Linked DNA regions of Homo sapiens: all the other regions are linked to region 1. Evidence: promoter capture Hi-C in 16 types of primary human blood cells and fetal thymus (Javierre and others, 2016). All regions are on one chromosome and are shown on one strand. Each heading gives the region's core, a stretch centred on a gene start or on the middle of the fragment in contact. The rest is flanking DNA. Distances are from core to core; before and after follow the strand shown.

Region 1 (4,712 bases), core at 257-2,756:
ATGTGTGCACACACACACATATTTGGGGAACATGCTGCTCCCTCGAAGCCTCACTCAACACCCTACACTATGGGAACTGGGGGAAATGAGGTAGACAGGCTTGAAACCCGCTCCTCCAATTCCTGGCTTGGTAATGCTAGCTGCTGTAACAGACAATGCCCCACATCTCAAAGCCTTCATGCAAATTTGTCCACAGAAAGTCCAAAACAGGCTGGGTGCGGTGGCTCACACCTGTAATCCCAGTACTTTGGGAGGCCGAGGTGGGCGGATCTCCTGAGGTCGGGAGTTCGAGACCAGCCTGGCCAACATGGTGAAACCCCATCTCTTCTAAAAGTACAAAAATTAGCTAGGCGTGGTGGTGCACACCTGTAATCCCAGCTACTCAGGAGGCCGAGGCACGAGAATCACTTGAACCTGGGAGGCTGAGGTTGCAGTTAGCTGAGCTCGTGCCACTGCACCCCAGCCTGGGCGACAGAGTGAGACTCTGTCACAAACAAACAAACAAACAAACAAACAAACAAAAAACGTCCAGAACAGGAAACAGGTATTCCTGATTAGCAGGCAGCTCTCCTCTACACGGTGACCCCAGCACCCCACACCTCACAACCGTGGCATCACATAGTTTCCAGGCTGACTGGCGGAGAGGAAAGAACTCGGAGGACCACACAGCAGAGGTTCATAAGGGGCGGGCCTGGGAAGGATCCCACTCTGCCCACATTCCCTCGGCTAGAACTCAGTCACATGGCAACATCTAACTGCAAGGGACCTGGGGAAATGTCTTTTAGCTGGGTGCCAGTCAGCCCCGGGATCCAAGTTGCTCACTGCTGGGGAGCCTCAATTTTCTTGACTGTAAAATGGGGAAAATAAATAAGACCTGCCCTGTAAGGCTGTGCTTGGAAATAAATTTTGTCCCTTCTCCCCTACTCCTCTCCCTTCTTTTCCTTTTTCTCCTTCCCACCTTCCCTCCCCTACCCCTGCCACACACACCCCCGCAAGCTTACCAACTTTACCTGCCAGCGTGGCCCCTCCATGCTTGCCTCTGGGGTCCTGGGAGCTCAGGACACAGGAGATTAGTCCAGATGTGGCGGACCTAGAGCCCCAGGCTGGTCAGGTGCAAGGTCACGCCCAGACTCCACTTTCTGACTCCTGTGCAGTGCTCCTCCACAGCTGACCGGGTTTTTCTCCTGATGGAAAGGACTCGAAGCTCTTCTCCTTTGCAGCCGTCCCTTTTCAGCCTTCCCAGAGCCACAGCACCTCCGCCTCCCGCAGCACTGTCCCTTCTGCCCTGCAGAGGGGATAGGCGGAGCTGGTGCTCACGGCCACAAAGTGACCAGGTGCCAGTCCTGTCACATCCTTTCTCAATTAATTGCTTGAACCCCTCCCTGCCTCATTACGTAAAGGCTCAGTGTCTCCCTCTTGAGGCTCCCCTACCCTTGGATTGCTCATGGTCCGCGGCAGGAAGCTGGACCATGTCCACACAACGTGAGGATGGAAGCTGGGGTCCTGTGCCGACTCTGCTGCAGTTTCTTCTCGCCGCCACATGGTGTCGCTGTGGGCCTGCAGGGCCACACCAAAGGCCTGCCTATTGGGCTCTGGGCTCCCTCCAGGGTGGTGGGGGCCACGTTGTTCATACCCAGCCTGGGGGTGGGTGGCCCAAGAGCACAGGTCAACAGCTGTCTGGCCTCAATTTATCATCAAGAACTCCCACCCACCCCTCCTTCATCCCCATAGATCTACTTCTGGGTCTGATTAGACTCCTGCCCCTTCATCTCCCGGCAGGAAGGCAGGCTTCCCTAGGTGGTGCCCCCAACCCTAACCCCAGGGGGAGCGCCCAGTGAGGACAAGGTGCTCTGGAAAATAAATTAATTCTCCTTGAGGGCACCTACTACATGGGTCCTGACAGGAGGGGTGGGGTCCATGTGACTGGAGAAACCGCAGGCCGATTCTGCCCCCAGATGTTTCTGTTCATGCCAGGCCTAGAATGCTCCCTCTAGGGTGTATTCCTTTGATTCTGAAAAGGACGCTGGTCTTCCAGAGTTCCTTATTAAAAAACACAATTCCCCAGCGGCATCCCCTTGGCCCTCTTTCTCTTCCTACTTAGTGAGGATCTGGCCTTAAAGCGGTCATGCTTCCCAACCTGATTAGGGTCCCGGAGCCTTCTGAAAATCAGATGAAAGCTTTGGACTAGTCTTTCCCCGAACTGCATAAATATATATCTATATATCTATATATTTATATATATGCACATAATATATATATTTATTTTATATTTATAATATAATACAAATATAAATATAAATATCTATTTATATTATATATATAATATAAATATCTACATCTATATATATATATATATGCACAAACATCCTTTCAGGGGTCCCCTGAGGTGCACACTGGCCTGTGCCTGGTTAAGTTTCCCTTACCTATTAGGAATTCAGCCCTGGGGAAGTGGGGAGGCAGCTGCTTTGCAGCTCTACAGAGTGGAAGGCAGGGGGCCCTGCCTTGTTAGCAGCTCTGGGCACCTGGCCTGGGTCACATGCAGCATCTGTCTTGGGAGTCCTGCTGTGTCAGTGAGGAGAGGGCCCCAAACGGGCAGGCCTGCTGCCCTGGGCGAGCCCACAGGGAGCCCAGCCTCTAGGCACGCGCTGTCTTATAACCTTCGATTCTGGCCTTGGGGGAATTTGTGTTCCCTTAACTTGCTTTCCCATCCACCCAGCCTAAATTTGACCACCGTTGTTTCCCATCTGACAACCTAACTCTCTTGATTCAGTTCCAGAAACCTCCCCACCCCTCGCCTAAATTCCAAGATTCCAAGCCCCTCCCACTTCTGCCTATTTTAGAAAGGCCAAAAAGAGAGGGGAGTGATGCCTCGGTGCCCGCTCTGTGCCTGGCACCAGCCTAGGCATTTTCCGTGTGCTCTCATGTTCCCTGCTCACTCTTGCAGTGTGGGTGATTATTTTGTGGCACAGAGAAATGATGCACCGAAGGTCACACAGTGACCAAGAGGCTGCACTGGGTTTCAGACTCAGATCTGGCTGCTTCTAAACCTGCGCTCCAGGCCTCCTGAGCCTCCACAGGGCAGGCATGCCCAGATCTCAGAGGACACGGTCTCCTGGTCCTAGACGCTGCCCCTGAGACTTCAGGAAGAGGGCCCGGTGGGTGGGTAGAACAGTGATAGCATACGCTGTGGCTGGGCATGATAGCTCAATTCTGGGCCTTGGTGTTCTGTCCTGTAAAATGGGCAGCAGCACCTCCTTCAGTGGGGCACTGTGAGGATTAGACCCTAAACCCTGTTAGCCAGGGGCCCAGCCCCTGGAGACTGTGTAAAGAAGCATGCCACGCTCAGCTGGGGCTGTTAAGGCTCCAGTGAGAGCAAAGGGGTGGCAGGGCTCCTACCCACAGGACTCGGCCATCAGCATCCTGCCCCCTGCAACACTTACACCGGCCTGAGCTGGGGAGCCAGATCCCAGCCCTCCTTGGCAGCTCAGAGTACAGAATTCAGCGAGGCCATTCAGCCCGAGGAGGGAAACTCCTCACGGTGGCCTTCCAAGACTTCCCTCCTGGCTAGTGGCTCCCTTCCGCAGGCTGGGCTCCTGCTGTAAAAGCTCCAGTGGGGAAGTGCTCTCCTCTTCCCTATGAGAAGAGTTCAGGGCAGGCTCTTTATCCCCATTCAATTTGCCTTTCTGTCCAGCCAGCCAGCCCGCGTTTGATAAGCAGAGGCTCTGGGCCAGGCACTGGGGAGGCGGGGAAGCCACTGCCCATGTGGTGAGAGGGCCCAGCATGCGTCCTCGTGCCAGGGGTGGGGGGCAGTGAGCAGCTGAGCCGGAGGACTGTGGTGGTCTCACGATCTATTATGCAGAGAAATGCAGAGGGGTGGCCTACAGGTCGTGGCCGAAGGACCCTCCACCCTTCCGTGAGGGGCGCTGCCTGGAGGGGTTCATCTCAATGGCACTCTGGTGGTTTTCAAATGGCTGAGTGAGCAGGGCATGAAGTTCCATTTAAAACAGAACTTCCATGGAGCAGGATGAGTAAAAATGGGAGCCTGAGAAAAAGTCATGATGGGAGTGGCCAGGTACTGGGCAGCCACCACAGATTCTCCGGGGTACCCACCTGTTAAACGGTGGCAGGGCCTGGGATCAGGAGCAGCACCCGGCTGGGGTGAGAAGGGGGACTGGCACGTGGTGTGTGCTTAAGAGCTTGGGCTCTGGAGCCCGAGCCCCAGGGTTCAAATCACTTTCCCCCTATTTACTAGGGTGTGGTCTTGGGCAAGTTCTGGAACTGCTGTGTGCCTCAGTTTCCACACTATAGAGTGGTTGTAGCAGCTACATGTTACAATAGATGTTACTATGAAAATCACAGTGCCTGGGCCCATGGCTCACCTACAGGACTCTTGGCACCCACAGGTTCCTTGTTCCGAAACTGCACACAGGATGGCTGGTCAGAAACCTTCCCCAGGCCTAATCTGGCCTGTGGCGTTAATGTGAACGACTCTTCCAACGAGAAGCGGGTAAGCCTGTCAACCTCCACCCCACGAACCCGGGGACAGGAACCTATAGGGTGAGGAGGCCCTGGGAGAGGAGGCCCTGGGAGAGGACAGGGTGGCACAGGCCTGGGACAGTGGTCAGGATGTAAGGGCTACCCCCTGTCCCCATGCCTCCTACTCACAGAGGTGTCAGTGGGTCTGCCTCACTGCCCTGGTCTATCGACCCGGA
Region 2 (4,861 bases), core at 535-3,034, 1.3 Mb after region 1:
GGTCCTCTCCAAGCGTTTTGCTGGGGACAAGTGCCTTTCTCTGAGGTTTACAACTCGCCCCGGCTCTGCTCAGGCGCCCACGGTAGCCGGAACTGGGCTGCAGCCTCCCCAGATCACACTAAACCCGAGCCGTTGCGAGGCCCCGGGTTGCCCAAAGATTGACAACGATCAGGAGCTAAGTCTGCTTTCCGGGGACCTCGTGGGGAGCTCTGTGCCCAGCACTTTTCTCTCGGACTCTCTGCTGGGGGAGAGAAAGAAAAGAAAAAAAAAGAAAAAGAAAAAGAAAAAGAAAAGTTTCTTTCGGGGGAAGCAGTGAAACAGGAAATGAAGATTCGCTCTGTAGTTTAGCTGAAAGGAAACGCTGTCTAATCCTGACATGTATCGCATTTAAAATAAAATTCTTTTATCTTCATGCGTGCCAAGCCCCCAGACATTGTTCGGACTCCTACGGGGGGAAAGACGTCATAAAATGAGAATTTGTTTCATTGTGGGTCGCTCTGCCAACACCGGGCTTTAAAGGAACGCCAAACAAAGCGGGCGCCAGGAGGGGGCTTCCCAGGTGAGCCCGAGACGGGATCGAAACTCCTCTCCAGTCCACGAAAACGCCCAAGAATAAGTTGTTGAGTAAAACCCACCCGTCCTCCTTGTAAACCCCCCAATTTCCTTTCCAAAACCCCATCCCTCTCCCAAATAAATCACGAGCGGCTCTCTTCCCATGCCAAGCGCCCTTGGCTTCACAATAAGCCCGGAAGATTTTAAGCAACGATATTGAGGTTTGGGAAGAGGGAGCGTGGGGCGTGGGATTCGCTGCTGCCCTGGGTTCAGTGTTCTTGGTTCTTTTCACGCCAGGCGTGATAAAGCAAAATATTTTAACTGCAACCTACAAGCTTGTTTTTTATCTTTTTTTCCCCTAACTTTTTTTTTTCCTTCCAAGAAACAGATCAAGAAAAACTAATTACAAGGCACGGCACCAAAGTTAAATGAAAATGTAATCCGGCAATAGAGAGAGAAAATTAATTTTTTAAAAGATAGATTTGAGTTAGAAACAAAAATACATTGTTCTCCCTGGTAACGTTTGCTAAACCTATGCTCGATTTCGGGCTGAAAAATCAGTAGTTACCCAGAACTCTGAGGTCACTCTCTGGATGCGTTTTCTTTAGAAATTCTAATTCGAAAATGTTCAAGCCTTCATTTGGAGCTTTGTTTTGTTTTCTGTATAAAAAGGTTTGGGGTGTTTTGCTTTTGTTTGTTTTGTTTTCTTTTTATTCAAAAATACTCCTTCTCTGTTTAGATATAATAGAGTGGTCTTGGAGATTAAGAGAATTTAGGAAAATATTTTTGATGGTGCCCTCAGTTGATATGTTACTGAAATAACAAATTGTTTTTTAAAACTTTCTTCTTTCTAGGTAGATGTCCCATCTCTAAAAATACTCTTGACTATTGGAAACGTGGGCACCAGTACACACAGCTGATGAGCTGCTCTAAGCCAGGGCTTGCTTCCAGCAACTCCCCTCACACCAAATGAAGAGGGTTTTGTTATGTTGGTTGTTGTTAGTGAAAGGTTTCTGTTTTGTTTTTTGTTTTGTTTTTGTTTGTTTTTAAACACTCTTGTTGGGTCTTCTACATCCTATATTATCTTCCTAGGAGAAAGGTTAATTTTCATTTCAAAAATGCGTGTGCTGCTGCACAAAACTCATAGTGCTTCATCCTAAAGATTTTTTTATGTCCAAATATTAAAATACTATAATGATGCTTTAATGGAATAAAATGTTTGTCCAATTAACCACTTCTTTGCTATTTGTTAGAATCTCTAGGAACATAGGCCAGTTCCTTAATGTAGTGTTTGTCCTAAGCCATTAAATACTCCATCTTAATTTTATTACATTAAGATATTCAAAATTATCTTCTTCAAATCTTTGTGTCATGTTTCTTTATTAGCTTGACTCACATCAACTGAGTCTCAGCAAGAAATAAGTTGACAGATGTTAGACAACTTGAAGGGGAGTTATTTGTTTTTAAAAAGATTAAATATTCCTGTCTAATTTATTTTTAAATCTCTCTCTCTCTCTCTGTTTTACTGTACTTGGACAGGGTAGGGCTGGAAAAGAAAGCCACGTCCTCCTTTACTGTATCAGCAGTGAATTTGCACCACCTTCTGGTAGGTTAGAGAATGACGAAAACACCCGCTGCTTCCATAAAAGAATTCTTTTATTCACTGTGGTCTGTTGTCCGATTTGTAGCTGAACTCAGAGCACCACTTAGCTTCTCAGAACTCACAGCTGATCTCTCCTATAGCCTGGTTTTATACAGATTCTTTGAACTGGGAAGTCTTTTCTTTATCATATCCTTGAGAAGGCTCACAAAATCCCCAACCGGTCCCTGCCTGTTAATTTACTGAAATGCCTGGCAGGGAAGTAAAGGATGGCTGGAGAATAGTCATTTCCTATTCTATTTTGGCTGTCCTCTGTAGAGTGCTTGAAAACAAATCGGAGGCTATAACTGTAGCAGCAGAGAAATAAACGCTTCTCTTTCTTGGTTTCATAAGACCCTCATTACCCACAATTAATCATAATGACATGCTGTATTCAGGCTCCTTGCTGGGGACTGCGAGGAACACACAGATGTGGCTTTCTGTAGATTTCAATCCCCTCTGCAGTATGGATTTCAGGATACAAAGCTTGTTAGTACACATTACTAGCCCCTGGATCTGCGGTTTCTCTCAAAAGTGCTGGTCAGCACTAGAGTGTGGAGGGTTTCCCAGACTTCAAATGAGGAACGTTTTTTCATGGCCTTCCTGCCTGGTGATAAAGACCACAGGGTGCAAAGGTTGATACTTCTTTCTCAAAGCCAAGCTAGATTTTAAAAAATGGAATATATACCCAGTAAAATGCAGTATGCATATATGTGTGTGTTACATCTATCTTATGTGAAGGTCTCTTATTCAAGGAGACAATAAACTTGATGGTGTGCACTACAGAATATGAGGAAAAATGAAGACCATGTTCTAGTAACATAGAGCCCCAAATGCTTTGCCTGCAAAACTGAGCTCAGAGAGAGAATGATTCTCAATTGGGTTAAATTAGTGAAATCATTTGATGAATTATTAATCTTATGTTAACCAACTGAGCCCCTGATAGGTGCCAGGTCTGTGAAGCTGAAACAGCCATGCTGGCTGTCGTGGGCTAGTTGCAATTGTCTACACCTGAATCAGCAGGGGCTTTCCAGCTAATTGTGTTAAAGGGATCTACCTACACAAGGCTGTTTGTTACTTGCATGATGTTAAGACAACCCAAACAAGAAAGATCAATAATTATTTTGTCATCACCTTACTCAAAAGTCTTTATTACAAACTTAAGAAGATTGTGAAGAAAGTACATGGAGAAACCTACAAACTTTCTTGATGAATATTCCAAGATAAGATTCAAATAAAGGTGAAAAAGACTGTTTTCTTAAATGCAGAGACTTAATGTTGTGAAGACATCAATTCTCAAATTTACATACAGACGGCCTTCCATATCCATGGATTCCACATTCATGGATTCAACCAATCTCAGATGAAAAATAATCAGAAAAAAAGTTGAGTCTGTACTGAACATGTACAGACTTTTTTCTTGTCATCATTTCCTAAACAGTACATTATAACAACTATTTACATGGCATTTACACTATATTTGGAATTATAATTAATTTAGAGATGATTTAAAGTATACAGGAAGAAATGTGTATGTTATATGCAAATACTACACTATTTTATATCAGGTACTTGAGTATTTGGGGATTTTGGTATCTGAGCAAGGTCCTGGGACCAATCCCCCACAGATACCGAGGGATGACTGTGTATATAAATGAAATCAATAGGATGAGTGAGTTAGAAGTGTGGGATAGAAGGGAATTTGGCAAAGTAATTCTAAACTTCACTTAAGAGAATAATGCAATGAAAACAGTGAAGACATATTTGGAAAACGAATAAAATTTGACCTAATGATATGTTCTATAAAACTACAACTTTAACAGGATGGTACTGGTGTGAAAATCAGACCAAGCAATTAAACAAATAAAGAGTACAGAAAGGATGTATTTTATTAAAGGACATATTTTATGTATTTATAAAAATTCAGTGTAAGATAAAGTTGACATCTCAAATCAAAGGCCTGAATTGCAGATTGTTTACTAAACATTGTTGGAAAAATGTACTATCCATTTGTTAAAAGGAATACATACCTTAACCAAAAATAAATTTCATATTGCTGAAGAGTTACCTTCAAATATTACATTGTAAAAAGAAAATCAGCAATAGTCACAATCGTCATCTGACAGCAGAAAAAAAACCAAGCCAATAATTAAAAGAATAGATTGGGGACATGGTAACCAAGAACATAGTGAGGCACCATTTAATATCCAGCACCCACACACATTTTAGAGACCATATTTTAGAGACCATATTTTAGAGACCATAACACTATTCAACTGACAAAAATTTAAAAAATCTAGCAATACCAAGTGTTGGAGAGGATGTGGTCCCCTGGGATCTTTTTAAACAAGGTTTCTGGAAAGGAAAGATATATATAGTCCCTTGGCAAACAGTTTGGCACATACCATATAACCCAGCAATTCTATTCCTGAGTATAGACCCGACAGAAATCTTTTCACCTGCACACCAGAAAAAAAAATATGTAAATGCATTCAGAACAGTAATAGGCATAATAGTGACCTGAATGTCTATAAATGGGGCAGTGTTTGAAAAACTGTGGTATATAGACACAACTGAATATGTGCAGCAGTTGAAATATGGTAGACACAGGTAAATAGCAATTAGCCTGAGCAGAATAATATTAAGTGGAGAAAAGCTAGTGCCAGAAGA
Region 3 (4,517 bases), core at 176-2,675, 1.4 Mb after region 1:
ATGATGCTTTAGGACCCGGAAATGACAGCCATGCCTTACACTTGCAAAGCTCCTCTATCTCCCTCGAATGTTCACTCGCATTAAGTGAGGGGTAATAAGATGGAGGAATTCACATTGGCAAGGTGGGGACATGGTCTGAGAAGAAAGATGTGATTAAGAGAGGTAGCCAGGATCAGCCGTAAACTCCCAATTGGAAGTTTCAGTACAGGTGGTGGCTTGGACTGGGGCCAGCCGAGAAACATGTGGTCCACACAAAACGTGTTGGGGTCCATATTGTCTGGAAGGACATGGTATTATGAATGTCTTTGTCTGATTGGAAATATCTAGGCTCTCCAAACAACCATTTCCAGATCTCAATATTGTCTGCCTTCCAGAAATGTTTCATCCTAGACTTGAGTTATTCACATTGTTTCCCCAAATGCCAAGTAGAAATGCTTGGGATGATAAAATAGAAAGCACAGAATACATTTGCCTTGGGTGCACATTCTTAAAGCACTTCACCTCAAAGCCGTCCAGAGCTCTGCTAGCTACTAAGAGGGTTGAGGCAAGAACAACCTCTAATAATTCAAAACTAAAATTAGACATTCACTTGAAAAATTCAGGTAACCGAAACAAAAATGAGGGAAGCTTTGTTTATTTAAATTATGAGATAATTGCCACAATTCTCCAATTCCCCTCACTAGGGTAGACTTGGCTTGAGTGTATCAGCATCCATGGTGACTCATCTAGTAAGTAAACTACATTAGCTCTGCTACCAGCAGAAAGGAAAGGGAAAGGTCTTGAAATATATCTATTGTGGCTTCCTTCCAGAGCAAGGGATTTCATTATATCCTGAAGACATGAGACAGTTCAAAGAGATTTGAAATACAGAATGAGAAGGCGGAGGAGGAGAAGTTTGGGATTATACACTTGCTTTTTAGTTTTGATTTTATATATGAGAATCAGACACTACAGACAGAGACTCTAGGGGGAGACTTTATTCTTCTGGTCCAGGGTTTTGTTTTGGTTCGTTCTGTGGTTAATATCTTTCCAAAAAGTTCCCCCCACATGGGTAGGCCTTCAGTTTACTCCCATGTACATAATTTCAAATAAGTATGACAGAAAATCCTTTAAAAACCACACATACATGATTTTCTATTCCATGGCTGAAATGAAACTTGATGGGAAAAAAAAGCATGATGGTGCCTGTTTATTAAATCCAGACAATGCAGAATGACAATAGGAATCATCCTGAAAGAGGCACCGCAATATTTTTGTAACAACAGAATAATAACTTGCTTTGCCTCTGTCTACTTTTAAAACCATTTTATGATTACAAGCATGTAAGCTATTCTAATTATTACTCTAAATAATTAATCATTTCCTTTACAATCACTTATTAATTAGCTGTCATAACATTGTTGTGAGTTAGGTGGAAGACAAAGATTCAATATTCAGTTATTAACACCTAATTAAAATGTTCATTGTTTTCCATATGTTGTTTATAGCTTTGCTTCCTCGCACTTGAAGACAGAATTTCTCCGAGAACAATGTCCTCTATTTGCTTAGCTACATCGCCATCTGTTGTTGAGAAGTAGAAAATGTCCTTTTCTGCTTTTTCACTTAATAGCTTAATCCTTACCTCAGTTTTTATTTGGAATTAAAAAAGATTGATCCCCAATATTCTCCCCCTAAAATATTTTTCTTAACTTTATTTGTTCTGCTGCTGACTACATAAAGTATTCTGCTAATGCCAATGGCATCATTTAAGTAGTAAATTAAGTGAGCCTATTAATGAAACTACAGTGAAAAATTCAAACTACTCCAATAAACTTTTCCAACATAGGAAAAGTATAGAAGAGGGGAGTTTGCTATCAAGTTTGGTTTACAGAAAGTCACCATCGAGGGAAATTTAAGATCTAATAATCCACCAGCCTAGGCAACATGGCGAAAGCCTGTCTCTACTAAAAATAAAAAAAATAAAAAAAATTAAAAAAAAAAAAAGCCAGGCATGGTGGTGCATGCCCGTAGTCCCAGCTACTCAGGGGGCTGAGTTGGGAGAATCACCTGAGCCCCGAGGTTGAGACTTCAGTGAGCCATGATCATGCCATTGCACTCCAGCCTGGGCAACAGGAGTGAGACCCACCCTGCCCCATCTCAAAAACAAACAAACAAAAAAAAGATTGACTATTTCACATCATAAAGATATGTCTTATACTAACTCATTTTTATAATAAAAGCTTATGTTTATTGAGCAACTACTGAATGCTAAGCACTGTTCATTCTTGCAACAGTCCAATAATGGAGACATTGCTGTGTTTGTGCCCACTTTACAAATAGAGAAACGGAATCACCAGGAGGTAAAGTCATTTGCTGATTCAGGGGGAGGCTAAATAATTTGTGAGGCTTAGTGCAAAATCAAAATGTGGAGCCTTTTGTTCCAAAAGCAGGGAAAGAAGTGCCATTAAAAGTATGAAAATATAAAGCTTTTTCCTTTCTTTCTAAGTCTCTCTCTCAACTTGTTATGATGTTTTAATTTGCTATTTAATGTTATTTTAATAAAAAATTTAATGTTGTCATTGTATGAGTTTTACCATTCATTTTTATATTGTGCAATGTGTTTTCAATGCAAATAAAAGAGCATGTAACTCATATACAGAATAATCAAAATTTCACAATTCGTTATTTTGTCGCTCATGTGTGTGTATTTCACTCTCTCCAGAATGGTAGAAATGCTGCACAAAACCAACTCAACTATTTTCATCTCACTTGATATATGCACAATCTACCAACACTGCTCACCTTGGGCTTATTGGTGAGTAGGGAATTACAATTCTCTTTCCTTCTATGTCATCATTTTCAGTACAAGTAGTTAGCCAACACAGAGAAGTAGCATAAGAGAGCATATGGTAGGCTTTCCTGTAATTCATGTTTCTTGGAATGCCTTGGCCTGCTTTCTGCATTCAAAGCAAGTTCTGGCCCAAGCGAAAAGTCAGTGGTAGATATGCAGATATGCCAATATGCCATGCTCACCTTTTCCTCTTTAAGTCTCACTGAACTCCCACATATTCTGGGTCCACCAGAATTCTGTGTTCACAAGGTGTTGTGTACTCTGTAAGGAAATAAGGTAGCAAGGAACAGCAGATACTCCATTATTATTATTGGGCTTAACATACTGTGCTTATCTTCCCTACTCTCATGTATGCTCCAATGTCTGTCAGAATTCACTTGCAAAACATAAGTTCAAACATAAAATTGTTGAGAATTTCAAGACAGTGACAGCAGAGCATTAAAATAAGTGTGAGGCTCTCTGAGCCTGGGGCTCTGTGAGACTACGCCCACTGAGCAGATCCTGAGATGATGGACACACACAGAATGACACATCTGTTTCCAGAGTTCACACTTCTAACCACTGTGCTCTGCTGCCCCTCAGATTATGCCCAGAGGCACCTTCAAAAGCTTCTGCTTTATGTGTCCATTATTCATAGAATTAAAGAAAGATGATGGTGGACAGAGGGCCTTAGAATTCCAACCTTCCGATTTTACAGACAAAAGACAAGAAACCCAAAGAACCAGGATGACAGCCCTGATGTCCTGAATCTAGACCTCCTCAAATTGTCAAAATGAATGTATTATCTCCTTCCCCTTTCCATCCCTTCCACAACCCACCTTTCCTTTGGTGCCCCACTTCTTTGCTGCTCTGTAGTAATCCTGTTCAGTCCCCATGGTTCTGGGGATGTGGACTCTCACCCTCTGCACTCAGGCCCAGAGGAGGACACAGAAGCCAGGCAGGCTTAGCAAAGCCGTGTCCTCCACAGGAACCTGGTTACATCTGTGGGGAAAGAGACACCCTTTTCCTCTGGGATGATGAGACATGAGGACCATGACATCATAGAGCACTGGACTTGTCACCAGGTAGAGAGGGACTGCCTGAGAATGAGGCCAATGTGGAGAAAAGCAGAGCTGAGAGACACAGACAAAAACAAACCCTTCAAGGAGTACAGATTTTGAGCATCTCAGTTGAGTCCTGAGTTACATAAATGAGTTAACAACCTCTCCCTTTGTTTCTTAGCAAAATTTGAATCAGGTTTCTGTTACTCGACTGTTTTCATCTTACTCGATGTGTGCACATTCTACCAACATTGCTCACTTTATTGATGAGTAAGGAATTACAATTCTCTTTACTTCTATGTCATCATTTTCAATATAAGTAGTTGGCCAATACAGAGAAGTAACATAAGACAGCATATAGTAGGCTTTCCTGTCATTCACGTTTCTTGGGCTGCCTCGGCCTTCTTTCTGCGTGCAAAGCAAATTTATGTTTCTGTTTCTGAAATCAGGTTTCTATTACTTGAGACAAAGGGTCCTGATTGATACAGGTTTGTGAATCATTCTGTAAACATGACCATTAAAACTATGGTGAGAATGCAAATAGATCCAAAGATTAAGCTATAGGGAATTTCATTTAAGGAGAGTGAAAAGGAAGAAAAGCCAGCAAAGGAAACTGAGGGAGTGATCGGGGGTTCCAGGAGACCTGG

The links. The method cuts DNA at HindIII sites, captures the fragments that hold promoters and counts their contacts. A CHiCAGO score of 5 or more calls a contact.
Region 2: a contact is called between a fragment that was not itself captured here and the fragment with the promoter of SCTR-AS1 in region 1, in 4 of 17 cell types (total B cells, naive CD8 T cells, naive CD4 T cells and 1 more). The highest score is 8.9, in total B cells.
Region 3: a fragment that was not itself captured here is called in contact with the fragment with the promoter of SCTR-AS1 in region 1 in 1 of 17 cell types (naive CD8 T cells); the score reaches 6.5 in naive CD8 T cells.

Annotation. Positions count from the first base shown.
Region 1 is chr2:119,473,248-119,477,959 of GRCh38, reverse strand. It overlaps SCTR-AS1 (SCTR antisense RNA 1), which reads right to left and starts at 1,506. Exons shown (of 2, transcript NR_147847.1): 1 at 1,002-1,506. It overlaps SCTR (secretin receptor), which reads left to right. Exons shown (of 13, transcript NM_002980.3): 4 at 4,404-4,507. RefSeq lists enhancers at 2,639-3,189, 3,740-4,291. The HindIII fragment of the contact is 1,181 bases long and covers 999-2,179 here.
Region 2 is chr2:118,219,478-118,224,338 of GRCh38, reverse strand. LOC105373578 (a long non-coding RNA gene) reads left to right here. Exons shown (of 5, transcript XR_923249.3): 1 at 1-559. Among named protein-coding and RNA genes, the nearest start is that of THORLNC, 36 kb to the right of the region's middle. RefSeq lists an enhancer at 2,012-2,306. The HindIII fragment of the contact is 1,790 bases long and covers 890-2,679 here.
Region 3 is chr2:118,043,878-118,048,394 of GRCh38, reverse strand. It overlaps LOC102723413 (a long non-coding RNA gene), which reads right to left and starts at 3,829. Exons shown (of 3, transcript XR_923247.3): 1 at 3,649-3,829; 2 at 3,013-3,091. The HindIII fragment of the contact is 1,592 bases long and covers 630-2,221 here.